7 separate regions of the Homo sapiens genome follow, and regions 1, 2, 4, 5, 6 and 7 are each linked to region 3. The links are contacts of gene promoters, found by promoter capture Hi-C in blood cells and fetal thymus (Javierre and others, 2016). All regions are on one chromosome and are shown on one strand. The core of a region is centred on a gene start or on the middle of the fragment in contact, and the rest is flanking DNA. Distances in the headings are between cores, read along the strand shown. Region 1 overlaps TERF1 (telomeric repeat binding factor 1). Region 2 has its middle 14 kb from the start of RPL7. Region 3 holds the start of UBE2W (ubiquitin conjugating enzyme E2 W). Region 4 has its middle 8.2 kb from the start of TERF1. Region 5 overlaps RDH10-AS1 (RDH10 antisense RNA 1). Region 6 overlaps LOC107986891 (a long non-coding RNA gene). Region 7 overlaps RDH10 (retinol dehydrogenase 10).

The links. Contacts are between HindIII fragments. The CHiCAGO score rates a contact against its expected background, and 5 or more counts as called.
Region 1: a contact is called between a fragment that was not itself captured here and the fragment with the promoter of UBE2W in region 3, in 1 of 17 cell types (non-activated CD4 T cells). The highest score is 5.6, in non-activated CD4 T cells.
Region 2: a fragment that was not itself captured here is called in contact with the fragment with the promoter of UBE2W in region 3 in 8 of 17 cell types (naive CD4 T cells, total CD8 T cells, non-activated CD4 T cells and 5 more); the score reaches 7.9 in naive CD4 T cells.
Region 4: a fragment that was not itself captured here is called in contact with the fragment with the promoter of UBE2W in region 3 in 5 of 17 cell types (naive CD4 T cells, naive CD8 T cells, total CD4 T cells and 2 more); the score reaches 8.7 in naive CD4 T cells.
Region 5: a contact is called between a fragment that was not itself captured here and the fragment with the promoter of UBE2W in region 3, in 1 of 17 cell types (M0 macrophages). The highest score is 5.2, in M0 macrophages.
Region 6: a fragment that was not itself captured here is called in contact with the fragment with the promoter of UBE2W in region 3 in 1 of 17 cell types (total B cells); the score reaches 7.8 in total B cells.
Region 7: a contact is called between a fragment that was not itself captured here and the fragment with the promoter of UBE2W in region 3, in 11 of 17 cell types (naive CD8 T cells, neutrophils, total CD8 T cells and 8 more). The highest score is 10.4, in naive CD8 T cells.

The regions. Positions count from the first base shown.
Region 1 is chr8:73,026,695-73,030,381 of GRCh38, forward strand. It overlaps TERF1 (telomeric repeat binding factor 1), which reads left to right. Exons shown (of 10, transcript NM_017489.3): 6 at 246-358; 7 at 3,642-3,687. Among named protein-coding and RNA genes, the nearest start is that of TERF1, 20 kb to the left of the region's middle. The HindIII fragment of the contact is 1,057 bases long and covers 914-1,970 here.
Region 2 is chr8:73,277,816-73,281,924 of GRCh38, forward strand. It overlaps a transcript of C8orf89 not described here and the pseudogene PRXL2AP2. Among named protein-coding and RNA genes, the nearest start is that of RPL7, 14 kb to the right of the region's middle. The HindIII fragment of the contact is 2,364 bases long and covers 1,677-4,040 here.
Region 3 is chr8:73,876,519-73,880,249 of GRCh38, forward strand. It overlaps UBE2W (ubiquitin conjugating enzyme E2 W), which reads right to left and starts at 2,344. Exons shown (of 6, transcript NM_018299.6): 1 at 2,290-2,344. The coding sequence starts at 2,304. It overlaps LINC01617 (long intergenic non-protein coding RNA 1617), which reads left to right and starts at 2,464. Exons shown (of 3, transcript NR_147034.1): 1 at 2,464-3,731. RefSeq lists enhancers at 1,027-1,076, 1,553-2,430 and silencers at 1,817-2,076, 2,097-2,146, 2,287-2,576. The HindIII fragment of the contact is 3,471 bases long and covers 1-3,343 here.
Region 4 is chr8:72,998,786-73,002,629 of GRCh38, forward strand. No RefSeq gene overlaps it. Among named protein-coding and RNA genes, the nearest start is that of TERF1, 8.2 kb to the right of the region's middle. RefSeq lists enhancers at 1,764-2,308, 2,309-2,851, 2,852-3,395, 3,396-3,844. The HindIII fragment of the contact is 2,026 bases long and covers 1,512-3,537 here.
Region 5 is chr8:73,324,321-73,328,441 of GRCh38, forward strand. All of the region lies in intron 3 of RDH10-AS1 (RDH10 antisense RNA 1), which reads right to left. RDH10 (retinol dehydrogenase 10) reads left to right here. Exons shown (of 6, transcript NM_172037.5): 6 at 1-961. Among named protein-coding and RNA genes, the nearest start is that of RDH10-AS1, 30 kb to the right of the region's middle. The HindIII fragment of the contact is 8,611 bases long and covers 1-4,121 here.
Region 6 is chr8:73,167,203-73,170,910 of GRCh38, forward strand. The region is part of intron 2 of LOC107986891 (a long non-coding RNA gene); the gene reads right to left. Among named protein-coding and RNA genes, the nearest start is that of SBSPON, 76 kb to the left of the region's middle. The HindIII fragment of the contact is 839 bases long and covers 951-1,789 here.
Region 7 is chr8:73,301,399-73,305,436 of GRCh38, forward strand. All of the region lies in intron 2 of RDH10 (retinol dehydrogenase 10), which reads left to right. Among named protein-coding and RNA genes, the nearest start is that of RDH10, 8.8 kb to the left of the region's middle. RefSeq lists an enhancer at 2,846-3,347. The HindIII fragment of the contact is 9,398 bases long and covers 1-4,038 here.

The DNA of each region.
Region 1 (3,687 bases), core at 192-2,691, 850 kb before region 3:
TATCAAATATATTTACAAGGAAAGACCACCTTCGTAACGCTGATAAACCAAGCAGATAGCTAATGTAGCTGCTGGCAGTGTCATAATTATTGGTGAAAATAACAACACAGTGCCCTTCATTGGCCTGTGAACAGATACATTAGCTATGACTATCAAAGAATTACAAGGCTTAATTTAATGCTATTTGTTTAAAATGGCTTAATGCATTTCTTCCTATCCTTCTACCTCCACGCACGTTTTTTAAGGCAGCGGCAAAAGTAGTAGAAAGCAAAAGGACAAGAACAATAACTTCTCAAGATAAACCTAGTGGTAATGATGTTGAAATGGAAACTGAAGCTAATTTGGATACAAGAAAAAGGTTTGTAATTTAATCAATTTGTATATTTTTTGTTTTATGAATGTTCTGTCTTTATGTAAAATTGATATGTCTTTTTATTAAAAATAATTATTGAGTAGCATGTTATCTTGCTGATGATTAACATTTAGGTATTTGAAGTACTGTAGAGTTATTTCATGACTTGTGCAAATTATATATGCTAAGCAAAAGTAGAGAATAAGAAAATATTACAGTTTAAATAATGTGGATAGTTTACCATTCTTGGGGTATGCTTAGGAACAAGGGTGAGGTTGGACTCCTGTGCCCCTTAGTTGTGTTTAGATTCTACATGTTCTCATTATGTGATTCATGTTTCACTGTACTAAGAGTCTAGTATTTTAAGATATTATTCATATATCTTCTCTAAGCATAAGCTCACTGCTTCATCTGGTGCTCAACTGAAGAAATAGTGATTTGCTTTAATACTGGAGGAAAACAAGTTGTGTCAGTCCTATATATTGAGAGATAGTTGTTAAGTCTCCAAAATTATTTTTTCTTTAGGGATTTTCAGGGGTGATTGTTGTCTTTTGTTTTAGAAGCTTAAGTATCTTCCCCTATTGAGAAAGATATAACTCTTAACATTATAAAGATCTTCTTTTCTGTTGAACCCATGGTCTGTTTTCTCTGTTCTTCTACCCTTAAACCAAGGCCAGATAATCAAATCTCTGTGGTCTCTGGATGGGTATATTTGGAAATGGATGTAATATTACTTTCTTCTTGGGACCATGACCTAAGTGTTGCAGGGACCCCATCTTAACTACTTATTTAGAGGTGGAGATTGGGGTTCAAGTTGGATCTACACTGCATTTGTCACATCTTAGGACTGAGGTTCTGTCATCTTATAGTGGCCCCTCCTATTGTTCCTGCCTGTCAAAGCATGACTTGTTCCTCAGGGGTTCATCTCTCCAAAGGCTGTACTAAAGTCTTATTTCACATTGATGTACTTTTTTCTAAACTCCAATTTAAGAAGTAGAGATTCCATTTTTATTGGCCCAATTACTTCCTTTTGTTTCAAAAATCAAAGTTGAATGATACTAATACCCAGTACATTCTTGTGGCCAAGCCATCCTGCTCATGATAATATTGCTAATACCATGGTTCTTACAGATAATCATGAGCACACTTCCTATGGACTCTCCTTATATAGTGCTACCCACTTATTTCAGATGCTCTCCTAGACACAAACACAGTGCAATCCATGTGTACCAAACAGAACTCTTCATGTTCTCATTTGCCTCTCTACACCCTGCCTCTCTTTAACCTCACACATCCAGCTGCTCTCCAAGTATTAGGAACCGCACCTCAGAAATGCTTCTCCAATCTATTTTTATCTATATAGCTTTGTACCATTCAAATCCATCCTTGACATAACTTCTAGAGTTAGCTTCCACAAAAATAAATCTCTTTAGATCACTCCCAGCTTAAAAACCTTTTGGCTCCTATTTCCTACTAGATGAGTCAGAATTTATTGGCATGGCTTATAAAGCCTTACGTAGACCCATTTTTTTTTTTTTTTTTTTTTTTTACATACAGTCTTATCCCTAAGCATGAACTCCTCCCTGTCCACATACATGGTACTTTCTAGCAGCACAGAAGCTTTGTTCCTTCTATTTGAATTCCTATCATTTTATTCTCTCCAAGGCAAGCTCTTCCTTGCCATTCAGTCTATCTCAGAGATCACCTATATGAAGTCTTGCCCAGCTCTGTAATCAGAGTTGTTACTTCTGTGCTTTCATAGCATACATCTCTATAAAAGGACTTATCTTCGTTGGTAACTTATTTGTTTACCTGATTCTTTCAATAGATTGAGAATTATTTGAAGGTTCTTACTTAGCTTTGAAGCATCTTAATTAGCTTGGTATCCTTGTTGCCTCATTCATTACCAGGCATACATTAGAACTTGCTGTACACTAGTTACAGGGAACAAAACTAAAACCAGAAACAGGGTAAAGATCAAGAATCGAGCAAATACCAAAACCATCGTGGAAGCAGAACCAGGGCAAATAAAGCATCAAACCACCAGTGTCATGACAGTTACCAGTAAGGATTCAAGTAAAGCAAGTATAGAATCAGAAGTGTGATTGTGAGGTCAGACAAATCCTAGAAAAATGGAAACCTCCATGTTATGAAGACTAGATGAAATAAATATTTTGCTCTGATAAAGCTTATACAGTTGTTCCTTGGTGTTTGAAGGGGATTAGTCCTAGGACATCCATCCTTCATGAATACCAAAATCCATGGATGCTCAAGTGTCTTACAAAAATGGTGTAATAGCCAGGAACAGTGGCTCACACCTGTAATCCCAGCACTTTGAAAGGCTGAGGCAGGAGGATCACTTGAGCCCAGGAGTTTGAGACCAGCCTAGGCAACATGGCAGAACCTTGTCTTTACAAAAATTAACCAGTCTTGGTGGTGCATGCCTGTAGTGCCAACTACTTAAGAGGCTTAGGTGAGAGGATTGTTTGAGCCCGGCAGGTCTGCAGTAAGCTGTGTTTGTGCCACTGCACTCCGGTGACCCTCGGCGAGACCCTGTCAAAAAAAAAAAGGGGGTGTAATATTTGTATACAACCTACACACATCCTCCCATATACTTTAAATCATCTCTAGATTACTTAAAATATCTAACACAGTGTTGAAATAGTTGAGATGGACAGCTTCATGGAGGTAGTAGTCTTGAACAGGGGCTTTTGTAGGATGGTTAAGATTTTTACAGATGGATAGAAGAGGAAATATCATTTTAGGAGAGAGGAATATTACTAGTGAAAGCATGGAGGTGTAAATAGTCATGCTGTGTGTATGTGGAAACCATTTTAACTATAACAAACGGGAACTTAATCGATTCCCAAAAGTTCAATTGGAGACTGGTGGGGAGAACCAGAAATTAAAATTGAACCCATCAAATTGTATACTTTAAACATGTGCCATGCTTTTTATGTATCAATTATACCTTAATAAAGCAGTTTTTAAAACTTGAATTCATGGAAATAAAGTGCCGTAGAAGAGTTTTTGAAAGAGTGTTATAAATGCTTGACTACACCATTAATTATGCTTATGTTTGGAGAAACTTGGTTTAATACCTCTTATAAGCATGTCTGGACAAGAATTAGCCATGTTGTAATGGACTGTATATGTCCCGATGTTACCAAGGTTTCTTTCCAAAGTTATTTTTTTATAAATTGAAATATGCCTTGACTATGTGGAAAGTACTATCCTTATGAAAAGTTTCTTTTGTTTACATTCTTACAAATTTTTTCTTCTTTTAAAGTGTTAGTGACAAACAGTCTGCGGTAACTGAATCCTCAGAGGGTACA
Region 2 (4,109 bases), core at 1,609-4,108, 600 kb before region 3:
TCACAGGTCCATTTTCTTTTCCCATAGCTGCTTTGCTTTCAAAGTCCTTGGTTCCTTCTCCAGCATTTTCAGGTCTATATCCTCCAGGTACTCCAGTGCCGCTTTCTGGGGCTTAGAGAGAAACATGTCTGTGTTGGCCAGCAACAATGCCAAGGCAGCAGCCCCCAGGGCTCTTGCACCGAGGGACCACATGCCCATGGTGAGGAAACTTGGGTTCTGGAAGAAAGACATTTCTGCCTCAGTCTCCAACTCTCAGCTCTGCTCCTTGGGGTGTGTGTCTGCCTGGTTCTGGCCCAGCCCTACTCTCAAATGCCAGATTCAGAAACCTCTGAATAGATGCTTACAAAAAGTGCCATAATACGATGTATAATTCTTTCTCATTTCTAAAACAATGATTACCCCTAAAACGTTATTTGTACACAAAATGGAGAGTTTTCTGATGAATGAGTATGGTAAGGAGTCAGGGTTTGCAGTCAGAATCCCAATTCTCATTCTCCAAGGCTGGGCCTAAGCAGGAGCATTCAAGACTATTCAAGCTGACTCCTTCACAATGCTTTTCAAAATAAATCCTCATTATTTTCTTTTTAAAAACCACCACAAGTGCCTCCCTTCTGCTAGCCTTCTCCTACCCTGACGCCCGGGCGCTGAGGGGCCAAACCACCTGGCCCCAAGGGTCCCAGGGGCAGGCCCCTGGAAGTAAAATTTTTTAAGATACTGTGTGTCTGAAAATTTTCTACATTTCACCCCCATACTTATTGATAACTTGGGATGAGAGCAGAATCTCAGATTATAAATTATTTTTCCAAAAATGTTGAAAGGACTATTCCATAGTCTACATGTTTTGATTCTTATTGTTGAGAAGCCCAATACTGTTCTGATTCCAACTTCCAAATTTTGTTGATACTATATCTATTATTCTCTAAGTCCTTATAAATCCATGCTATTAAAAAAATTTTTAAACCCTTTCCTATCAATAGAATTTTAGAAGAAAGTGAGTTAATGAGTGTGTTCAGTGACTATCTTTAACTATAGTCATTTTAGTGATCCATAACTCCCCCTATTTTCTATACTGAGAGTCTCAACCCAAGCATCTTAGGTACGACAACTCTTTTTTTCTTTTTTTCCCCCTTTTTAATTCTCATTTTAGCTACCCTGTTAATTAAAAGGACAATTCTTTGTTGTACCAAACTGTCCTAAGTATTACAGGACATTTTCCCAGTCCTTCTGCTCTTCTTCATATGGTCTTGTTCTTGTCTTATGGTTTCCATTCCTTCACCTTCTTGAATATGAAAAATTTAAATTTTTTTCTATGCCATTCTATTTAGTTTTAGGGTACAAATCTCCCGTTTGCAGCATCTGCCAAGTCTGCTTCCTTGCAGTTAATTTCCTTACATATTCTGTAATCTTTGCAAACTCATCTATAGAGAGATCGATATCTATAGAAGTCAAGGATTCCTTGAATTACAGGAACTTTGCTATGCAGAGAGGTTTTTCATTGATCTTTGCCTGGCCCTGGGTGTCAGAGGTACCAGACCAGCTAAAATGTCAATTTCTTGGACTACGGTCCTGACCATGTAGTAATATGAATTCAGACCCCAGACTTGAGCTAGTATGGACCATTAATCTCTAATCTCTAGCAGCTGACTCTTTTCTTACCATAGCTCAAGTAGATGGCAAGCTTCCTTCTTGCCTCCTCAGGTCAATAAGGGGATGTTTTTCTAGTTATCTTCTTAGGGTCAAAGGGTTCTTGTGGTAGATTTTATTTTTCAAAGATAGGTGTACTAATGCATATGCAGTCCCACATGCTCTTCCTTCACTGTGATGTTCCTCCTCTCCTCCATCAAGAGGTGAGATGTTTCTTTCCCTGAAACCAACTTCCTCAGCCAAACAAAAAAACAGTAGAAACCACACTATGTGATTTCCAAAGCTAGGTCATAAAAGTGATATGACTTCCACTTGGCTCTCAGGACACTCACCTTTGAAATCCAGCCACCATTTTGTGAGGAAGCCAGGTGACATGGAGAGGCCACATACAAAGATTACAGCTGACATCTACAGCTAAGGTCTCAGTCAAGAGCCAGCATCAACCACCAGACATGTGAGTGAATAAACCTTCAGGAGATTCCCGTCCTGAGCCTTCAAATCTTCCAGCTGAGGCTCCAGACATCCTGAAGCAGAGCCAAGCTGTCTCTGCTGTGCACTGTCCGAATTCCTGACCCACAGAATCCATGAGCACAATAAATGGTTGTTTCATACCACTAAGTTTTGGAGAAATTTGTTATGAAGCCATAGTAACTGAACAGTACTTCTTTGTGACTCCCAGCTTTCAGCAGATGGCTCAACGGTGGCTTTCTCTGTGAACATTCCTTCATTTCAGGCACCTGGGGATTTCCTTTTCTTTGTTCCTAGCTTAGCCACATTTCCATAAATTATCTTTTACTCAGCATTTGAAATATATTGAAGCAAAATGGGGACCCTTCCATGCCAGCTCAGTCTGCCACATTGCCCAGAAGTTCCCAGAATAGCTTTTTAAATAATGACATAAAGAACTGAATAATTTATTTATTTATTTTTAAACGGAGTCTCACTCTGTTGCCCAGGCTGGAGTGCAGTGGCACGATCTCAGCTCACTGCAACCTCCACCTCCCAGGTTCAAGCAGTTGTCCTGCCTCAGCCTCCTGAGTAGCTGGGATTACAGGCACATGGCCCCAGGCCCAGCTAAATTTTTTTGCATTTTTAGTTGAGAAGGGGTTTCACCATGTTGGCCAGGCTGGTCTTGAACTCCTGACCTCAGGTAATCCACCCACCTCGTCCTCCTAAAGTTCTGGGGTTACAGGCATGTGCCACCACTCCTGGCCAGTAATTTATTTTATATATACACATACATATACATATATATATACACATATATATACACATATATATATACACACACACACATATACATACATACATACATATATACATATATGTATATATTAAAATCAAAAAAGAAAAGAAAAATAATCCTGAGAGTGCATTTATTAAAGACCAGGTAACTTGTTGCAGAGAAAATACAGTCAATAAAAAATTCATTCTCTCTAGTACTCAAATAAAAGGCAGATAATATAATGAGCTACTTTCGCCAATCAAAATGGCAGGGATTTTTTTCTTTACTATTAATAGAGTAAGATGGAGTGCAAGGAATAAGGTTTCAGTGGGAGTATATATTGGTGTAATATTTCCAGCGAATAATCTAGTAATATACATGTCCTTATAATTGTATATATTTTTGACCCAGCAATTCTACTTCTGGGAATTTATCCTAAAGAAATAATCACTGGCCAGGTGTGGTGGCTCACACCTGTCATCCTAGCATTTTAGAAGGCAGAGACAGAAGGATCTCTTGAGCCCAGGAGTTTGAGACCAGCCTAGGCAACATAATGAGACCCTGTCTCCACAAAAAGAAAAAGAAATAATCATTGATACATGAATATCAATTCCTGTATTTCTTATAATAGAAAAGAGAATGAAAATAACTCAAATGTCAAACAGCAGGTGGCAAAATAATCTTTAATTTTAGGGTTGTTTGAACCAAAATAATTACCAAGTGAACATAAAGAAAGATGAGTTATAGATTCATTGAGAAAGATATTTATTTATTCATGTCATGCATTGTGCTAGTAGTTGTAATACAACAATGATTAAAGATAAAGCACATGGTCTATGGGAGGTAGTGGGGAGGAGTAATTAGTTCATTACGATAAAGCTACGTTCAAATTCTATGGCACAACAGAACTTTTGCTGACCTTAACCAGACTGGAGAAGTAGGAAGGTTTTCTTTGTTTGTTTGTTTGTTTATTTGTTTGTTTTTGCTTTTTGAGCAAGTGATGTTCAAGCTAAGTCCCAAAGGTTTTCACAAGTAGAAATCAACTGTGGGAGAGAAGGTTGTTTGTCCACTAAAATCCTGGCTCCTCCTCCAGAGAATAGCGTTTGTTCTAGGAAGTGGCTGCCTCCCTGTGACTGGAATGTGAGCCAATGTAATGTGTAACACTGCAAGAAGCTTCTAAGAAGCTAAGCAAGTATGCTTTCTCCATAGTTTCTCCTTGCCTTTCTGCTGACTGGATTTA
Region 3 (3,731 bases), core at 1,094-3,593:
AACCAGAAAACACAGAAGAATAGAGAGTGATAAGATTTCGATGGAACAAGGTGAAGGAAAAACTTAAAAGGGTGGTAAGAGTCTGAGATAGTAATACTTAGGGCACAGAAAAATGCACTATTGCACTGTCAATCAAGTATTTGTTTCCAATTCTTAAGACATCATGTAGGCCAGGCACGGTGGCTCACACCTGTAATCCCAGCACTTTGGGAGGCCAAGGCAGGCGGATCACCTGAGTTCGGGAGTTCAAGACCAGCCTGACCAACATGAAGAAACCCCGTCTCTACTGAAATACAAAATTAGCTGGGCGTGGTGGTTCATGCCTGTAATCCCAGCTACTCAGGAGGCTGAGGTGGGAGAATCGCTTGAACTCGGGAGGTGGAGGCTGCGGTGAGCCAAGATCGCCCCATTGCACTCCAGCCTGGGCAACAAGAGCGAAACTCCATCTCAAAAAAGAAAAAAGACACCATGTAAAGTTCAAGTTCAAGATTACCAACCTCTCTCTTACAAACAAATCTGCCTTTTCCAGATACTAAATCTAACGAGATGACACACTACGTTCTCTTGTCAAATACAAGTGTTGTGGATTTTAATCTTAATGTTTAGCCTCAAATAATGTTTTAATCTTAATACAGATAATAATCTTAAACTTGTCATAAAAAATGTTTTAATCTTAACACAGATAAAAATCTTTAAGTGGTAATGTAGCCTATTGCATCTACTGTTCAACTAGCATTCCACTGTTCCTTTTTTGGCCTCAAATGACGAAACTTCTCCAACGTCTCTGGGGAGACTAGTGTAAAGTATAATGTTTCCTGAAATTGTTCCTGTTTTTTCCCTGCACCATTCGTGATATCTCTTCAACTAGAAATGTTACATAAAACTTTTCTGTTCTGCAGGCAAGTCCAGAGGGAGAAGCAAGGTAAAGAGAATATTGTAAGGAAAACAGGTTGAAAGGGGAATAACATAAAAGCACAGGAGTAAATGTGAAGCAAAGCTATATTTGTACAAAAGAGGAAGAAGATGCAGAAAAGGGAAGAAAAACACTTTTAGCAGAGTAAAGAAAAAAAAATGGAGGAGGAACAGAGACTTGCTTCTTCCAGAAACAAAAGCAAAAAACACTTCTAAGAAAATGTGGTCTCTTTACCCAAGGGGATATTATGAAAACGCTAAAGGGTACTCAGCTGACACTCCTATTGAGCGTTCTACTTTCTCTTCCAATGCCTTTGATACCGCTAGTCTTCACCTGTGAATTAAATGCAGGCTACAGATAACGCACTCAATCCCTGCACAACTACAATTGTGGTTGCCATCTTTGCCTGGAAACAAAAAACAAAAAAACCCACAACTCCCTAGATTCGGGAAAAAGGAGTAAATTAAGTTGGAAAGCCAGAAAACCACGCCTTGCTAAGTCGGGGGGATATGGCACAGGTTAACAAACGCCTCCTACCAAACTAAGGTTCCACTAAAGGTCTGGGAATAAGGGCAAAGAGATGTATAGCCTTATCGCGACCGCAAGGGTGGGGCCTTGCAGTGGGAAACAAAATAGAAGGCAAGCTATCCCGAGAGGTTTAAGGGGGCTGAGGACTCGGCTCTCGGGAGATCGCCCATCAGGCGGTGGACACGGGGCAGCTTCGAGAGGAAGGAGACAGTGGACTGCTGGAGGAATGTCCGCGAGAATACCGAGGCTGATGGAAATAGAAGATACCCACGGGCACAGGATTAAGAGTCAAAGGGAAGAAGAGAGGGACGGGGCCGAGCAGTCTGGGGGGCCCGGCGTGGGAGGCCGGAGCAGAGGCCGCTAAGCGCCGTCCGCAGCCAGCCGCCTTCTCCGGAGACGCATTCTCGGCTCCCGCACACTCAGCCCCCCGCCGCCCCTGCCCCGGCAACAACCGCGGGCGCAGCTGTTTCCGTCGGGCCAGGGACAGCGGGGGTAAAGGCAACCCTGGGGCTGGCGGGCAGCAGACTGGCAGCGCCCGTGTGTGTGTGCGGGGAGCCGATTCTGAGACCGCCAACGCCAGACTTTGCCCTTTCTTCCCCAACCCTCCTTTATCACCCAACTTCCCGGCCGGCTGGTGTCCGCTTCGACCGACGGATACCGCACCCCCCACAACGCCTCTCGCCGCCTCTTACCCCTCCCCCGACGCCCTGAGCTGAGGGAAAACAGGCCACCCGGACCGATCCCGAACCCGCCCGGGTGTCCCCGAATCGCGGACGCCACCCCCGCCCGAACGCTGGCACTCTCTCGGCGGCTCCCTGGCCCGCCCAGATGCAGCAAACTCCTCTCACCTGCATTGACGCCATGATGGAACCATCCCCCCAAGACCGGCGAGGCCAGAGACGCAGGGGGAGGAGCTGCCGTGCTCGCGTCACGCCGCGGGGGCTCAACATCCCGGGCGCGGGGGCGGGGTCTGCGATGGGAAGGGGATGGAGCGAGGGGATTGGCTGGCGCGCAGGGCGGACGGGAGGAGGGGCTACGGGGCGGGGCGAGGGCGCGGTAAATGGCGCTCTGAGTACTTTCTGTCTCAGTCCGGCTGGCCGCTCACGCGTCGGGCCCCCATTTACTCTCGTTACTGAGGAGACACGGCTCCAGTTTTGACCCGACTACGGTTGTTTTCTTCGTGTGTACCGCGAAATGCTGATGACGTCCGGTTCCGCGCAGTTTTTTTCCTATTTCGTTTCCAACCACAGTTGTGCGGTTCACAGATTTTTCCCTTGGGATGTGTTTTCCATACCTCCAAGCCCACTCTCAGAGCCTTGGGGCCCCATAAAACTTCATGCGCAGCTGCTTTCTGGTATTTGCAGACCTGGAAGGCTTCTCGTATTCTTAATTTGGGGAAGAGAGACATAGGTTTCCTTGTACAACGGGATGAGGATTTAAGAGCAGAACGACACTGATATTTTAAAGGCGAGGGTATTTAGATTTGTGGAGCTGAAACTTGCCTGAAAAGGGAGACAAAATTTGGAAGTTTGTTGTGTGCAGTTTCTGCCCCTTACCCCCGCCCTTCACTTTTAAACTGCGCATATATCAACAATAGTTACGGTTGTTGCAGCAGTCTAAATTTGATTATCAGAATTGACCCTAGGCATGAATTTTTTTTTAAATATACCAATGTCGTGTTATATACACTTATACCATTATGTCCAGACTTCTCTTAAGCATAGTTCGTGGTGGGCAGTTTTGTGGTCATTTAGGGATGAACTTGGGTAGGGAAAGCTGAGCATACATAATTTATTTTAGGAATGCACCAGTTCTGCCAACATTTATCAGAAGTCACGTTTTTAAAAAGCTATTCTGGAACTGAAGATGTCATTGGTTTATAAGAGGAAAATGGAAGCCAAAAGCTTACACCTCATGCTCTATCTTTAAAAATTAAGGTGGCAGACACAATGAGTAGAAGGCTTTTATGTTACCAGAATGAAGGCTTAAAATCTGTCATTTTATTGACTCGGCTTTCTTTTTAGAAATTTCTTTAAGATATAAAAGCAATGTGGAATATCACTCTTTCACACTCTTAAAATAGATTACGTTCTCTGGAACTTCTCTAATCTGAAATGTGTTCAAAAAGGAAAAAGATCTTTAAAATACGCCAGTTAGTCTATGGTATAATATTAAACACTATTCATCACTAGAGAAGTTATGGTGGTATACCCTCCCCTTTCTCAGATGTCCACCTTAATGCCAGAAATGAGCGGAGTTTCCCTTTGTTGTGCAAAATGACTGTGTCCTT
Region 4 (3,844 bases), core at 1,275-3,774, 880 kb before region 3:
GCACTCCAGCCTGGGCAACAAGAGTGAAACTCTGTCTCAAAAAAAAAAAAAAAAAAAAAAAAGAGAGAGAGAGAGAAAGTTGCTGGCAACTATTATACATGCAATAAATGCTAAGTATGCAGTATGGTCTGAATTGTGGTGTCACCCTCAAATTCATATGTTGGAACAGAATATCCAGCATGATATATTAAGAGTTAGGGCAGGCTGGGTGCTGTGGCTCACGCCTGTAATCCCAGCACTTTGGGAGGCCAAGGCAGGTGGATCACGAGGTCAGGAGATCAAGACAATCCTGGCTAACACGGTGAAACCCCATCTCTACTAAAAATACAAACAAATCAGCCGGGTGTGGTGGTGGGCACCTGTAGTCCCAGCTACTCGGGAGGCTGAGGCAGGAGAATGGCATGAACCTGAGAGGCAGAGCTTGCAGTGATCTGAGATTATGCCACTGCACTCCAGCCTGGGCAACAGAGCAAGACTCTGTCTCCAAAAAAAAAAGAGTTAGAGCCTTTTGGGAACTGATTAAGTCATGAGAACATCACCCTTGTATATGGAATTAGTGTCCTTATAAAAGAGGTTGGGCTGGGTACAGTGGCTCATTTCTATAATCCCAGCAATTGGGGAGGCTGAGGAAGTAGGGTCACTCGAGCCCAGGAGTTTGTGACCAGCCTAGGAAACATAGCAAGACCCTGGTCTATTCAAAAAAAGAAAAAAAAAAAAAGTCGAAGGGAACTCCTGCCTTGCCCCTTCTGCCAATTAAAAACACAAAAAGAAAATACCATCTTCGAAAAACAGAACAGGCTGTCACCAACACCTCAACAATCAGTGCCTTGATCTTAGACTTTCCAGCCTCCAGAACTTTGAGCAATACATTTTTATTGTTTATAAATGTCCCAGTCTGTGGCATTTTGTTATAGCAGCTCAATTAGACTAAAACAGTGTGGTTGATATGATCATTATCATTATCATCATTAGTATCTGTCTCAGAGGACTTGGTCTGCCCTCCTATTGGGAAAGGGGGCAAAGATAGAAACTGAAGGTTCTGTTTTTTGTGGATAAACAGCAAATCTGAGAGTACTATTGAGTTCTTAATAGCTGATGTTTTCAAATCTATAAGGAATTTCATTGATAAAAATGTTTTCTACTCTTTGAGTATCAATTTTCTTCTAGCCATGTCTAAGAAAAATGTAACAGATTCATTCAATATCAACTGAATGTCCACCACATGATAAGCAGTTTTCTAGCCATGGGGATACGGTAGTAGACAACACAGACAAAAATGCCTTCCTTAGCGTATCTTGTTTTTTAATGAGACTGACAAAGAGAAAACTAAAATACCATCAGTTAGTGAAACATGCTATGTAGAGTACTGCAGATAGAAAATATTTAAATAGTCAAAGAAAGTATCTCTGAAGAAAGGTGACATTTGAATGAAATGGGTTGGCAGGGAGCAATACAAATATTGGAGAAAACAATCAAGTCAAAGCAAGTGCAACGACCCTGGAACAGGAACAAGCTTAACCTATTTGAGGAATAGCAAGAAGGCCAGAATGGCTATAGCAGTGGTGGCAACAGACAGAATTTTTAATAGATATGGTTAAAAACTAGGTAGGGAAAATATCACGTAAGGCCCTGTAGTCTTTAATAAAGAGTTTGGGTTTTATTCTAAAAATGATCACATATCATGGTAGGTTTTGAGGAGGCGAATGACAAGTTGTGATTTACATTTTAGAAAGGCCATTCAGATTATTGTGCAAAAAATCGCTGGGTGCAGTGGCTCATGCCTATAATCCTAGCACTTTGGGAGGCCAAGGTGGATGGATCACCTGAGGTCAGGAGTTCGAGACCAGCCTGGCCAACATGGTGAAACCCCCATCTCTACTAAAAATACAAAAATTAGCCAGGTGTGGTGGCAGGTGCCTGTAATCCCAGCTACTTGGGAGGCTGAGGCAGGAGAATTGCTTGAACCCAAGAGGTAGAGGTTGTAGTGAGCCGAGACTGTGCCACTGCACTCCAGCCTGGGTGACAGAGCAAGACTCTGGCTCAAAAAAAAAAAAAAAAAAAAAAAAAAAAAGACCATGTCAGGGCAAGAGTGGAAGCAAGGAGAGCTATTGTGAGGCTACTATGTGGGCCATATGAGACATGAGGGTCACTTGGCTGAGGGTGGAGATGCAGATCATGGTAAATAGTCAGATTATGGATCTATTTTGAAGGTAGAGCTGACCAAAGCTGTTGAAGGACTAGATCTGATGTGTGAAATAAAAAAAGGAATCAAAGATGAAATTTGTGTCTTTGGCCCAATTAATTGGCTAAGTGAATGGCAGTGCCATTGACTGTGATGGGAAAGATGAGGTAAGGTCTAGTTCAGTGGTGTCCAATCATTTTGCTTCCCTGGGCCACATTGGAAGAAGAATTGTCTTGGGCCACACATAAAATACAGTAACACTAACAATAGCTGATGAGCTTTAAAAAACACAAAATAATCTCATATGTTTTAATAAGGTTTATGAATTTGTTGGGCCGCACTCAAAGCTGTCCTGGGCTGCATGCCACCCACAGGCCATGAGTTGGACAAGCGTGGTCTAGTTTGATGGGGTATGGGTTATATTTGGACTTGTCAATTTAGATGCACAAAAATCCAAGCAGTGATGTGGGGGTGCTCAGCAGAAATTTTAGAGAGGGAGGTTTATGTTTGGGTCTCAACAGGATCTAGATGATATTAAACAGAGAGAATAGATAAGATCAACTAGGGAATGAAGTTCAAAGGCTGAGGTTAAGGACACTACAACATTTAGAGTTTAGCAAGAAGAGATATAGTCAGCAAGGAATACTAAGAAGTGGCTAGTGAGGTGTGAAGAATACCAGCAAAGGATGTTATCCTGTAAGTCAAATAAAGAAAACGCATCCAGGAGGAGGGCATGATCAAATGGGTCAAGTGATCTGAGTCTTCTATAATCTTTAGATATCATGGAATAAACTTAATAACTGTTAGCTGCATATATTTGCCTGGTAGTTTACAGCAGCATTTCTCAAATTGTGTTTGTTGCTATTGAAGGAAATCAAAATATTTTACCCCAAAATATATTTCTTTGACATATTTTGAAATGGCTGCCACCTGGCCAGCAAATAGAAGTGGCCTTGCAAAGCTGTCTTTTGTGGGGAAAATATGCATCTGTAGAGAATTTCCATTAATGCCGCCATGCCCCCTCCCCTTTCTATGCCTTTCTTGAATCCAGGAGAGGCTGAGTGTTTGACCGTTTTAAAAGTCTGAAAAGAAACATTTACCATCTATTCTCTCCAAGGGAGGTTTCATTTACATAACAAGGCCACCTTTGCTAGCCAAGATTGTTACTTTCTCCCTCATCACCTGCTGATTTATCAACATAACCTGTTTCTGGCCACCCTCTGAGTCTGTATTCTTTACTGTGGCTCAGGATGTTGGGTCTTCATTCTTAAGGCTCCCATGTACACACATTAAATAAATTTGTATGCCTTTTCTTCTGTTAATCAGTCTGCCTTACATTAGTGATTTTTCAGTGAAGCTTTCAGTGGTCAAGAACCTATGGTTCCCGGAGTACGATAATTATATAGGATGTTCTGCAAAAAAAGGAGTGCAGTGATCAATTATGGGACATGTTTCACTCAGAAATTCATGATCCACATTAGTGTATTTAAAGCTCTGAGAAGTCCATAGAAAAGAAAACTTCTACCTTTTAAAAACAGGAATCCCCCAAATTGTTTTTTCTTAAAAATCAGATTGAGGATAACCTACAAGCAGGAAAATCCAACCATTTTAGGGGTACAATTCTGAGTTTTTACACAATCACATAACCACCCCTGCAATCCC
Region 5 (4,121 bases), core at 1,051-3,550, 550 kb before region 3:
ACTATTTTGTGCCTTGAATTTGGTATATGTGTATTAGTGAAACATTGTAAAGGTGAACTTCTACCTCTGTATCTAAATGTATACCATCCACTTGTAAATGACTATAAACTATTATGTGATTGCTTTTTTTTTTAGAATGTCTTGTTTAAATAGTGGCCAATGTTTAAGGCTGTTAAAATAAGCCAACTTTTACTAATTGGGGAGTTTTATAAATGACTGATTAAATTTAAAGAATTAACTTACATGCAATTGTGTGATTATTAGTTATCAGCAGTGTTGTAAGGAAAATTATTGTGTTTTTTTTTATGATCATTATCCCACTTTAGGTAAAGAAAAATATTGGAATGGAATAGTGTTGGGAAACAGACATTAACAACCTAGGGTGCCTGCACTCAAATAGCCGATGTTACTGTCCCTAGATTAGAGACTTGATTAAGGGCTTGTTTGTACCAAAAGTGGGGAAACAATGCCATGACCTGTGTTTTAGTTTGGCTGCACCACAGATCAAATCTGCACTGTGTCTACATATAGGAAAGGTCCTGGTGTGTGCTAATGTTCCCAATGCAGGACTTGAGGAAGAGCTCTGTTATATGTTTCCATTTCTCTTTATCAAAGATAACCAAACCTTATGGCCCTTATAACAATGGAGGCACTGGCTGCCTCTTAATTTTCAATCATGGACCTAAAGAAGTACTCTGAAGGGTCTCAACAATGCCAGGTGGGGACAGATATACTCAGAGATTATCCAGGTCTGCCTCCCAGCGAGCCTGGAGTACACCAGACCCTCCTAGAGAAATCTGTTATAATTTAACAACCCACTTATCCACCTTAAAACTGAGGAAAGTCGTCTTTACATCTAATTTTATTCTTGTGTGTTATAACTTAAACCTATTTCTATTTTTGTTTGTTATTGCCCTTATAAGGGTGTCCATCTCCAAGTTCAATAAACTAATTCATTTAACTTTTTTGTAGAAGTCTTTCATTCCCATGTCCCAGCCCAGTTCAATCACTTCTGTGGCTCTTCCTTGAATGTTGTCCATATTCTCCCTCCCATCTTTAGCTGTGGAGTTTGGAAAGGGATACAGTTAATGCAGGTTTAGAACTATGGAATTCCTACAAGTTGCATTTCTTCATCCCAATGTCACGTTCTTATTAATGCTACATTGCTGATTGTGTGCATTATTGTTTCTAAACATGAAATCTCTTCTAGACAAGTCTGCCTGTTTGTGTTGATCACTTATGTAATTGCCAAGGTTGCTTTTCTGGCTGGTTATTTATCTACACCTGCCCCCACCCCTTAACATGAATGCTGACTTTGAATATGTTCTCTTTTTTGTCATCTGGCCCATTCATGTGAATGTTCAGGGCCACTGCACTCAAGGCTGATCCCCTAAGGAGCACCACCTCTGTCTGTGAGCACCACCCCCAGCTCATACTGGCACTCTCCCTTTCTCTAACCTTTCAACCAATTTAATGATAATTATATTGAGTGGGACCCAGGAATCAAAAGTTTTGAAGCCAACAAACATAAATTCCAACTATTGTTTTCCCCCTTGATCTACCAGGTCTGCTGCTCTGTCACAAAAGATTAGATTAGCCTGACAGGATTGAGCTACGTAAAGCCAGGCTGGGGTGTGTGTGTGTGTGTGTGTGTGTGTGTGTGTGTGTGTGTGTGTGTGTGTGTGTGTGTGTGTTAGGTATCCTGTTTCCTTAGAAGGCTGTAGCTTTCAAATTTTCTCAAGTTAAAAGAAAATGTTTTCTTTTCCAACTGGCAGAAATAATTCTAAATTGACATTGACCTGAATCTTGGAAATTTGCTTTTGCCTCCAGCAAAATATAAGATCAGTAGGGGTTGGGGGAACAGGGTCATTCTTTCTATGCCAAATGTATTGCCTGTGCCTGAGTCAGAAGAGTAGGGAAAGCAAGGATGTAATGGTTCGGAAGTGGTGAGATGTGGGCCCTGGGCACATGTAGTCAGCATTTGCACACCAGGCATCTGCCGAAGCGCCCATCCCAGGGACTCGAGCGTGCAGGTAACTCACAAGTACACATGTAAGTACCTATGTGCACATGCCACAAATGAAGCCTCAGAGTATGATGACATCTCAGTAAGGGAAGGAAAGGTGGCCTGGAAGGTTGGTGATGCAATGGATGGATTTGGGAATGGGAGTTTGCAGATTCCGGGGAACAGATTCTCAGGAAAGGCCCAGAGATCAAAAAAAGTAGATTATACTCATTATGACTGAAGCATAGAACATGGGAAGAGAATGACATGCGTTCCCTAAGGAGATCCCATCTTGAGAATGGCCTTCATTCCAGGCTGAGGAATGGGCCCTTCATTTGATACAGAAGAGAGAAGCCCTAGAAAGTTTTTTTTAGCAGGAAAGTAACAGAAGCAGAGTTGTAAGTTAATAGGATCAATGAAGCCGCTGTGAAGAATTTCAAGGCACAAGAAGTAGGGAGCAGTGAGGAAGGAAGTTATTGCAGTAGTCCACGGGGAGGTGCTAAGAATGGGCCAGCAAGAGAGGGGGATAGGGAATGGAGGGAGAAACCCAGGCTGAGCAACCGATACCGCAGGAGGTTGAACTTGCAAGCCTAGGTGACTGAAGATAGCTTATCCCTCGAGCCAAGTGGTTTTAAGTGGGAAGAACAGAATTCACCAACAGTGAATCTGATTTAGAAATGTTGCATTTGAGATGCCGGGTGACAATAGCTGGCAGACAGGCGAATAATCCTGGCCCTCGGGAAACAGGTTGGTGCTGGGATCCTGAAGTCATCCACATAGAGGCTGTGAAGTGAACAAACCTGGGAGGGGGAAAGCACAGAATGAGTGGAGATCCAAGGACCCAGCTTGGGGAATGTGGGGGAGCAGCAGCAGAAGGTGTAAAAGGTGACAGAGTAAAGTTAAGAAGGGAACTTTCTCCTCCCAAGGAGAAACCAGACTAGAAATAATTATCTCCTCTGCTTGGACCTAGTCCCCAGGCTGAGTCACACTTAAGAAACCTCAGTCTGGCCCAAGAAAAAGAGTCTGTGTGGCCAGCCCTGGGGCAGAGGCCCAAAAGGTGAAGGGCAGTGTTAACAGACAGCACATGGAGGCTTCGACCATGCACTCGGGTTTCTAGTAACTGAATCCATTGTTAAAAGGACCAAAGGAAAATTTCTTCCTGAGTGAATCCTGGAAACTGTTGTTCTTTGGCAATTTTCTTTGCTTGGCCTCAGAAGCATGACTTGCTTAGATGTGCAAGCAATGTTTCATCAGAACCCTGGGGAAAAACAAAATGCACTTTGAGTATCACCAAATGGATACATGTTAGTGCAAATGAACTATTTTTATGTGCCAAAAAGATGAGACAGGACCTGCTTCTATCAGGGTGCTCAAAAAGACGGGTTCCTATCTGGTCCTTGAAGCACTAAACTCACAGCGGGCCAAGAACCTCTCAGGCAGGTCCTGGGTCAAGGTGGACATGCAGTGACTCCCAGCTTTCCCAGGAAATGTCACGGCAGAGCAGTGTGGAACCACAGTCTTGCTACTGTTTATTATGACGCTTTCTGGGGATTGCAGTTCCTACATTACAATAGCTATACCAAAGCACCTACACATTTCACAACTCATCTATTATTTGGGGGAAAGCATTGACAACACACAGCCACACAGTCCAGAGAATCCTGCTCATTGAGTAATTATTTCTCATTTAACGTGCTCCGTTGCTGTAGAGAACTTAATGTCTTCCAGGAGCTCCTCACAGGCTTTTGAGCTGTGACTGTTGAAACATTTCTACCACTAGCAAAACGCAAGAGAATTGATTAGCAAGAAAAACAAAGCATCTTCAGCCCAGATTCTAAGTTTGAGGTTTTCCTGTCAAGGTGATTGAAACCATGCTGCAGGGAGAAACGTGTGTGCATAGCAGCCATGAAGAATGCCCCTCTCCTTGTCCATACCTCATGGGTGGTCCACCTGAATGCCACTCAGCAGGCATCCCCTCCCCCTAGGGAGGAACCTGAGCCCAGCTCCTCCAGCCCTCTGCTAGCAGGTGGCCATCTCCCGGCCAGCCCAGCTTATCCAGGGCCTGAGTGGTCCAGGAGGCTAATGAGCAGATGGGAGTCCTGCCTGGACACAGGCA
Region 6 (3,708 bases), core at 120-2,619, 710 kb before region 3:
TCTTCCCAAAGTCATCCAATCATCCAAAGCTGCTGTGCAGAATGGCTTTAGGGGTACTGAGAGATCACAGAGAGACGCCCCTCTCCCCAGCATTATGGAAGAAATTGTATGCTGTGTCTAAATTTCAATTTCCTTAACACACTTGAGCTCCATTTAGCAATGCTACGTAACACTTGCCCTGCCCACCTGGCAATGGTGTGAGAATGAGTCACATAGGGTGACACTCTGAAAACTGGCAAAACCAATGGAGGACAGAGCGGGGTGGGGGCAGCAGGTCCTAAGAGCAAGCTTTGACACAGTCTGTCTCTGAGCTGACAGAACTCCTCCAGAACCCTGGATGTGTTTCTGTTCACCTGTGGCCTTGGACCTGATGTTTATGTAAGAACTCATGGAGAAGATAAATGTGAACAAGTCATTAAGGAAACTCGTGGTCTGCCGTATTTCAAAGCCATGCCCTCCCTGGCCACCACGGGCCCATGTGTGCATGAACCCACTCCTCAATACCTCCTCAACAACTGTGGTTGCACCAAGCAGTGAGTGTGGAGCAGAGCGGCAGAGTTTCAACACTGTCCTAGCCCTGGACTGTCACTGAGGTCAGCCACAGATTGGCCACCTGGGCAGGTTCAAGGACTCAGACTCAAAGCTTCCATATTCTGGCTGTGCACGGTGGCTCACACCTGTAATCCCAGCACTTTGGGAGGCTGAGGTAGGTGGATCACCTGAGGCCAGGAGTTTGAGACCAGCCTGGCCAACATGGTGAAACCCCATCTCTACTAAAAATACAAAAATTAGCCAGGCGTGGTTGTGTGTGCCTGTAATCCCAGCTACTCAGAGGCCGAGGCAGGAGAATCACTTGAACTAGAGAAGCGAGGTTGTAGTGAGCCAAGATCGCACCAGTGCACTCCAGCCTGGGTGACAGAATGAGACTCCATCTCAAAACCAAAAAAAAAAGCTTCTATATTCCCTTGGGGCTGAAAGGGTAGTTGTCAAATGGCTGCATATTGTACAATCTACCCAAATGGTGGGAAAGTTATTCTCTCAGCAGTTTTATGATGATTGCTGGAAGCCTGTGAGTTCAGACTTCTCAGCTCATATGTGGGGAAACTGAGGCCCAGAGAGGGGGTGATTGGTCCAAGGTCAGACAAGTCGTGGCAGAGCCAGGTCTGAACCTGGCCTCTCTTTCCTTGGCCATTTGGGCTCCCCTTTGGAAATTCTAGACCATCAGCCCACTAAACAGGACGAGAGAGAGTCCTCCATCTCTCTCTTTGACATCTGACAGATGGGGCATGTCAGCTGCCGTTTTCTGGTTCAGCTCAGATGGTGAAGGCAGGGGAGGGAAGTGGTTTTCTGGTTCAGCTCAGATGGCGAAGTCAGGGGAGGGAAGTGGGAGGCAGGGCTGAACGTCATGTGTGTACATTTCACTTCTTTCTTCGCATTTTGGTTACATTTAACAATGTGTTACCTCTTCACAGAGTCATTTATATCATTTGCAGGAGGCCAAGAATGACATCAACATCTATTAAAACCTAACGTTTCATGTTCTTCACTGTAAACACTCACATTGCTTTGTTTCCAGATATAAACGCAAAGTCATTCTCAAGTTGAATGGTTTCTTTCCAAGAAACTTGATGTTACTGTAATGAAATTTACCTAATTAATCTCCTTAAGGAGAGAAGGAATCTGATGATGACTGTTAATGAAGACCTCAACGTTCTTCTTGTAATCAGAGCAAGGCAATCTACAGATTCGTTGTGGGAGAGACCATAACTTTCCAAATAAATCTCAGTAAAGCTTTGCAGACAGGGCACTTGAGTTGCTTCCCCACTTGGCTGGCTTGCTTTCAGCCTCGGTGAGCCCTGTACAAACTTCTCCAGAACTCTGGATGTGTTTCTATTCACCCATGTCCTTGGACCCGATGTCTGTGTAAGAACTCATGGAAAAGGTGAACGAGTCACGGAGGAAATCCTTGGTCTGCCCTACTTCAAAGCCATCCCCTCCCTGGCCACCGTCTGCACATCGTATGCATGAACCCACTCCTCAATACCTTCTCAGTAGTTTGGTTGCACCAAGCAGTGAGTGTGGAGCAGAGCAGCAGCTACCCTTTGCCAGGGGCTTCCCTGAAGACCAGTGAAGCCATCCACACAAATGTAACCAAGAATTTCTCCTTGCAAAGGAGCAAAGTGTGTCACCAGGGTATAGGAGGCCACACTGGGATGTAAGGAGAACACTCTGTCTGTCTCCTGGTCCCGAGATCAAGCGGGCCACAGGAGAAGTGGAACCCACAGGGAGGAGCTTTGTGAGAGATACCACTCTGTAAAGATGTTGAATGAGTGCTGGCAGTTATTAACCCTGGAACTGGGGATCAAACAGATATACAGGGAATCACTGGGTGGAAGCCTGGGAAGGATGGGTCAGAACAGTGTGGCAGAGTTTGAGAAGTTATAAAGAAAGCTTAGGGATGCAGCAGGAATCCAGTTTTCAAGGCTGGGGCAGCCAGTCAAGGAGGCAAGTACCCAACAGTAACTGGATCCTCAGCCCCCGAAAACAGAGCTGAATCTGTTTAAGTCCTTACTGATTCAGGACATGAGCAGACTAGGAAGGCAGGTGGGTCTGGGTTTGCAGATGGCAAGTGGGATAAAAGATATCAAGGCAGGTAACATGCTAGACTTGACATTATTTCAGCAAACAAGGCCATAAATAGTCCCAGGAGGCCACTAGTGACCTGAGTAGACTTTTCAAGAACAGAAGCCTTCCACCACCCCTCCCCATCTTCCATCCCATCAGTGGAAAAACGTTGATTCATTCACACTTATCTTTTACATGTGTTCTTACATAGCCATCAGGTCCAAGGCCACGGGTGAATAGAAACACACCAAGAGGTTCTAGAGAAGTTTACAGGCCTTGGTATGATAACATTCTGGAGTGATTTATCCCTAAAAGTTCATGGTGGTCATTCAGTGCTATGTTGCTCCACTACCCTTTTAAGGGATCTGGAATCTGGAACTGGGCTCAGCCTTCATTATAATTGCTGGTTCTATTATTTGTGTCCCATACTAGATTGCAAGCTCCCCAAGGGCAGGAGGCAGATCGGTCTACTTCTATAGATCAATTTCTGATACAGTGCTAGCACAGAGTTAGCACTCAAGAAATATTTGATGAATGAATGAACGAATGAATGACTAATGGTGGCAGACAGAACAGCTATGCTCAAGCATCGCCTTCCTCCTTCCTCATATCACATCCCTGCCTCCAACAACTATGGGGTTGTCTGTGAGACTTGCTTTGGCCAGTAGGATACGGGGGGCCATGACGCAGGCTCGCCTGAGCAGCAACCTGAAGTGAATGCATGTGCCGTGGCTCCGCCTCTTGCACTGCTGCTCTCTGCCATGGCTGCATGCTGCTCCTGCAGCCTTTGTTCCAGAACAAGAAGATTCGAGAAGATGTGAAAAGGAGACCCAGAATTGGCCCACAGCCTGGAACAGAGCTGTAGTCCATCTGCTGCTCTTGAGTGTTGTGATGGAGACATGAGGATTTGCTCTTGGGAAACAGATTTGGGAGTTATTTGTCACCACAGTAAAAGCTCTGACCTTGGAGGAACAAGGCCTCTTCTATTCAATTTCACCCACGTGCTGGCACAGTGCCTTCAATTCCTTTGTTTTGCCAAAGCCAAAAGCAGATGGCAAAACTTGTACCACCTAGAAAGCAGCC
Region 7 (4,038 bases), core at 534-3,033, 580 kb before region 3:
AAATATTTAGAAGATAACCTATTCAGAGAATACTCACATGGGTCTATGTTCTGAAGTTTTAAAAGGTAAGCATTATGGGCTGGGCACGGTGGCTCACACCTGTAATCCCAGCACTTTGGAAGGCCAAGGCAGGCGGATCACTTGATGTCAGGAGTTCGAGACCAGCCTGGTCAACATGGAGAAACCCTGTCTCTACTAAAAATACAAAAAAAGTAGCCGTGGTGGTGCTAGCCTGTAATCCCAGCTACTCAGGAGGCTGAGGCAGGAGAATTGTTTGAACCCGGGAGGCCGAAGTTGCAGTGAGCAGACATGGCGCCACTGCACTCCAGCCTGGGTGACAGAACAATACTCCATCTCAAGAAAGAAAAAGGTGAGCATTATGTTGGACTAAAGCTGTGTAAGACCATTATTGCAAACCAGGGCTGTCTCACCCTTGTTGTCACTCATATTTTCTTTTGCTTTCCTACATAACTTTCCATTCTCCCTGTCCCACATGTGTTCTGATTTTTACTATTTTGTGTTAGAACTCTGCTCATTGGTGTGAGGCTAGTGACTTGATAAGGCTGGTGTTGGTATGCCAGTTTGAATGAAGCTCACAATGAATGTGTAACAGCCATTCATATTTACCAATGATCAGTCCTCAAAAAGAGGACCCCCTTGGCAATTCTTTCCTTCCCTCTTAACCATGTACCATTTCTGTACCCTTTGGAAGCCTTTCCTCAGCCTGGCATAATTCTGTACAGCCTTCCAGTCTGCTGTGACGCTTCATCTTCCAATGTTGTTCCATCACCAGTAGCTCTCCTAGGAACCTTCTCCTGGTCACCAGTCAAGACTTAGTGATAGATTTGGGGTAGGTTCTAGTCAGCATAATCTACTGTGAAACACCCAGTACAAGACCATGGAAAATGAATGCACTATCATGCACTTTAACACTAGCATAGAAATTATTCATGTGGGCTGTTTGTATCTGGGTGAGATGTAAAAACTTGAAAGATACCTCTCTTGGGCGGGGTGCAGTGACTCAAGCCTGTAATCCCAACACTTTGGGAGGCCGAGGAGGGTGGATTGCTTGAACCCAGGAGTTCAAGACCAGCGTTGGCAACATGGCGAAACCCTGTCTCTACCAAAATACAAAAATTAGCTGGGCGTGGTGGCACGTGCCTGTAGTCCCAGCTCCTCAGGAGGCTGAGGCAGGAGGCTGGCTTGAGCCCAGGGGTTGTAGACTGCAATGAGCTGAGATCGCAACACTGCACTCCAGCTTGGGTGACGAGAGCCAGACTCTGTCTCAAAAAAAGGAAAAGAAAAATATCTCTCTGTATTCTACTTTGAAATATGGAAAGTTGGTCTCCATGCAAACCCATGTTTTCCTCAAAGTACTAACATTGCTTTACTTGTTATTTTTTAAGAGAAGTAGAATCTTAGCTTGCTATTTCTAAAAGCCAAAGTTTATCTGTAGATCCTTTTTAACCGAAGAGCTGCATTTGGCCTTTATACGTGAGCAGCAAATTGATCCCTGATTAACCAAAAGGGGGAAGCAAAAGCATTTAACTCCAGGCCTTTTATATTCTGAAGAATTTTTGCATGGTAAAGGACTAAATCTGTCAAATAGCTAGTAGGTAATTTACTTCTATTGATATGGTAGTCAGACAAGATAATTGGTAGTTAATTAATAGACCACTTAACTTAAAAGGTTTCACAGTTTTAAAATACTAATTACTGAATTAAGCATTTATCTATATCCAAATGTCTAAAGTCTATTTAGTTAAAATCTATCCAGGAAAAGTAAAAGCCCACCAGCTAGATCTGAGTAATGTAGCACTTAAAGACATTAGTGCTGCAGTTGTACCTAATATCTCATAAATGGTCCCTAATCATTAATGTTTAGGTTCTTATGTGATTTACTGGTTTTTAATCTCACATACTGCATTCCTGTGTTCTCTGGTTACAGAAACTAGTTTTGTTCAAGGTTTCTTACATTTAGAATTTCAAAAATCATTTCTAAAGTATTCATAAAAATATTTGGCCAGTATTTCTCCTTACCATAATAACTGTAAGACTAATTAGTTTATAGAGAATATTGATTTCCTATCTTAAGATAGCTACTAAACACTTGGAATTCATGGCCTATTTTTAGAAGTCTCCAGTAGAACTGGTTTCTGTTATTAAATATATGTCATATGTATAAAAATGTTTGAACTTTAGAAGTACTTTCAATGTCTTAAACAGAGTTGTAAATTGACCTGGGGTCAATTTTATCTTATTCTTGTAGTCACAGTTGAAAACTGAGTAAAACATCTCTTTTGATAGGAACTGCTTGGTACCTGGGACTGAATACCTATATACACCAAATAGGATCACATGCTCATTGAACTTTGAGTTTCTGTATTTGATACATTACATGCTGGGCCCAAATCTGTTGCTACTAGAAATCAAAATCTATGACATGATAAAATATCACTTTACATAGCTGGTGTGAATAGGGAACCAGACGCTGCATCAGATAAAAAGTTCTCCAACATCTTCAATATGTTCTAATCTGTGTCTGTTTTTCTCAGTTGTTTAAAAAATAACTGCTAAATAACCAATGTCATAATTTCTAACCTAAATGAAAAAAACAGCAATGCTCCCCTCATTGCCAAATCCAGTGTGCAGCTTCATCTTTCTACAGAATGTGACCCTCTTGACCGTCTCCTTGAAACTCAAGTGCTTTAGCTTCCATGATAAGCCCACTTTGTCGTGCTTCTCTGTCTGCCTTCAACTACCTTGACTGCGCCACACATTCTCTTAAAGCAGCATGTCACAAAACTGAACAAACTCCTCTTTGCTCCTTCTTGCATTCCCTGGTCACCAGGCTTAGAAACATCAGCATTATCTTCACCTCTCCAGCCTGCGTACATTCATGGGTCCCCAAATCCTGACTATTTGCTTGTGCCCCTGTGCTTTGATTGATCGCCCCTTTCCTTTCCTACTTCATCCTGTGTGCCTCCATCACCTCTTGCCTGGACTCTTGAAAGTGCCTCTGATCTTCTTTTCCTGTATTCGCTTTTGGCTTTCCAACCTAGGGTCATCTAAGCAGCCTTGAGTTTGTTATCTGCCTGCTTAAAACACTTGTATGACCATATTGCTCACAGCGTGAAGTCCAGGCTCATTAGCATGGCATCCTGGGCCTTCCAAAGCTGATTTCCACCTGCTTTTCCAGGTCAGCACCTATTTATCCCCTCATCTACTGTAAACTTCAGATGGGCTGGACTCCTCACTGTGCCTGGAGAGAGCCTTGCACACACTTATGCTTCACACAAGAGCCTCTGCTTGGCTGTTCTGCCATTTGAGTCCTGTTTTACTTGAAGACAACAGAAGTTGAATAGTTCAGAAAAAAATCCGTCACTATTCCTGAGAAAGAAAAACAAGTTCAAAACATTTTCATGTTCACTTAATAATATCTTTATATGTTAAGATGGCAGTCCCTGTAAAATAGTCATGAAATTCTTGGCTCAAGGAATGGCCCTTTCTTGTTTGATCATGGAGTGAGTTGTGTTATTTATCTCAATTCCTGGAAGGAAGCAAAGTTGGTATTTGTTCTTTTCTGCCTCATTATTTCTACATCCCAGGCTTTATCCATTTTCTGCCCAAATAAAATCAATCTATAGGATATGTCAAAGTGGAAGCATTGTGTAGCCTGTGCTAATGCTAACACTGACTGAATAGCTTTCTCAAAAAGACTGAATGCAGAGTGCCCCGGCAGAGCCCTTAGCCATTCATTGCAGGATTGGGTCACTACAAACCCTGTAGTTTAATACTTAACTGCTCACACTCCACTTATTCTCTTCTCCTACATTTGTTTTTACTCTGATCATGCTTCAGATTTTTGAGATCTTTGGGAAATTCTAATGAATCGGTTTTAGTAACTTGAATATATCTAACCCATGACAATCTGAGAAAATTTAATAGCCTCACCTGAGAGTTAGATGAATTTTAAGTAGGAAACCCCTTTACATTTAAGTTTTGTCTTGAGTTGAGAAATATTAATAGCAAATTCAT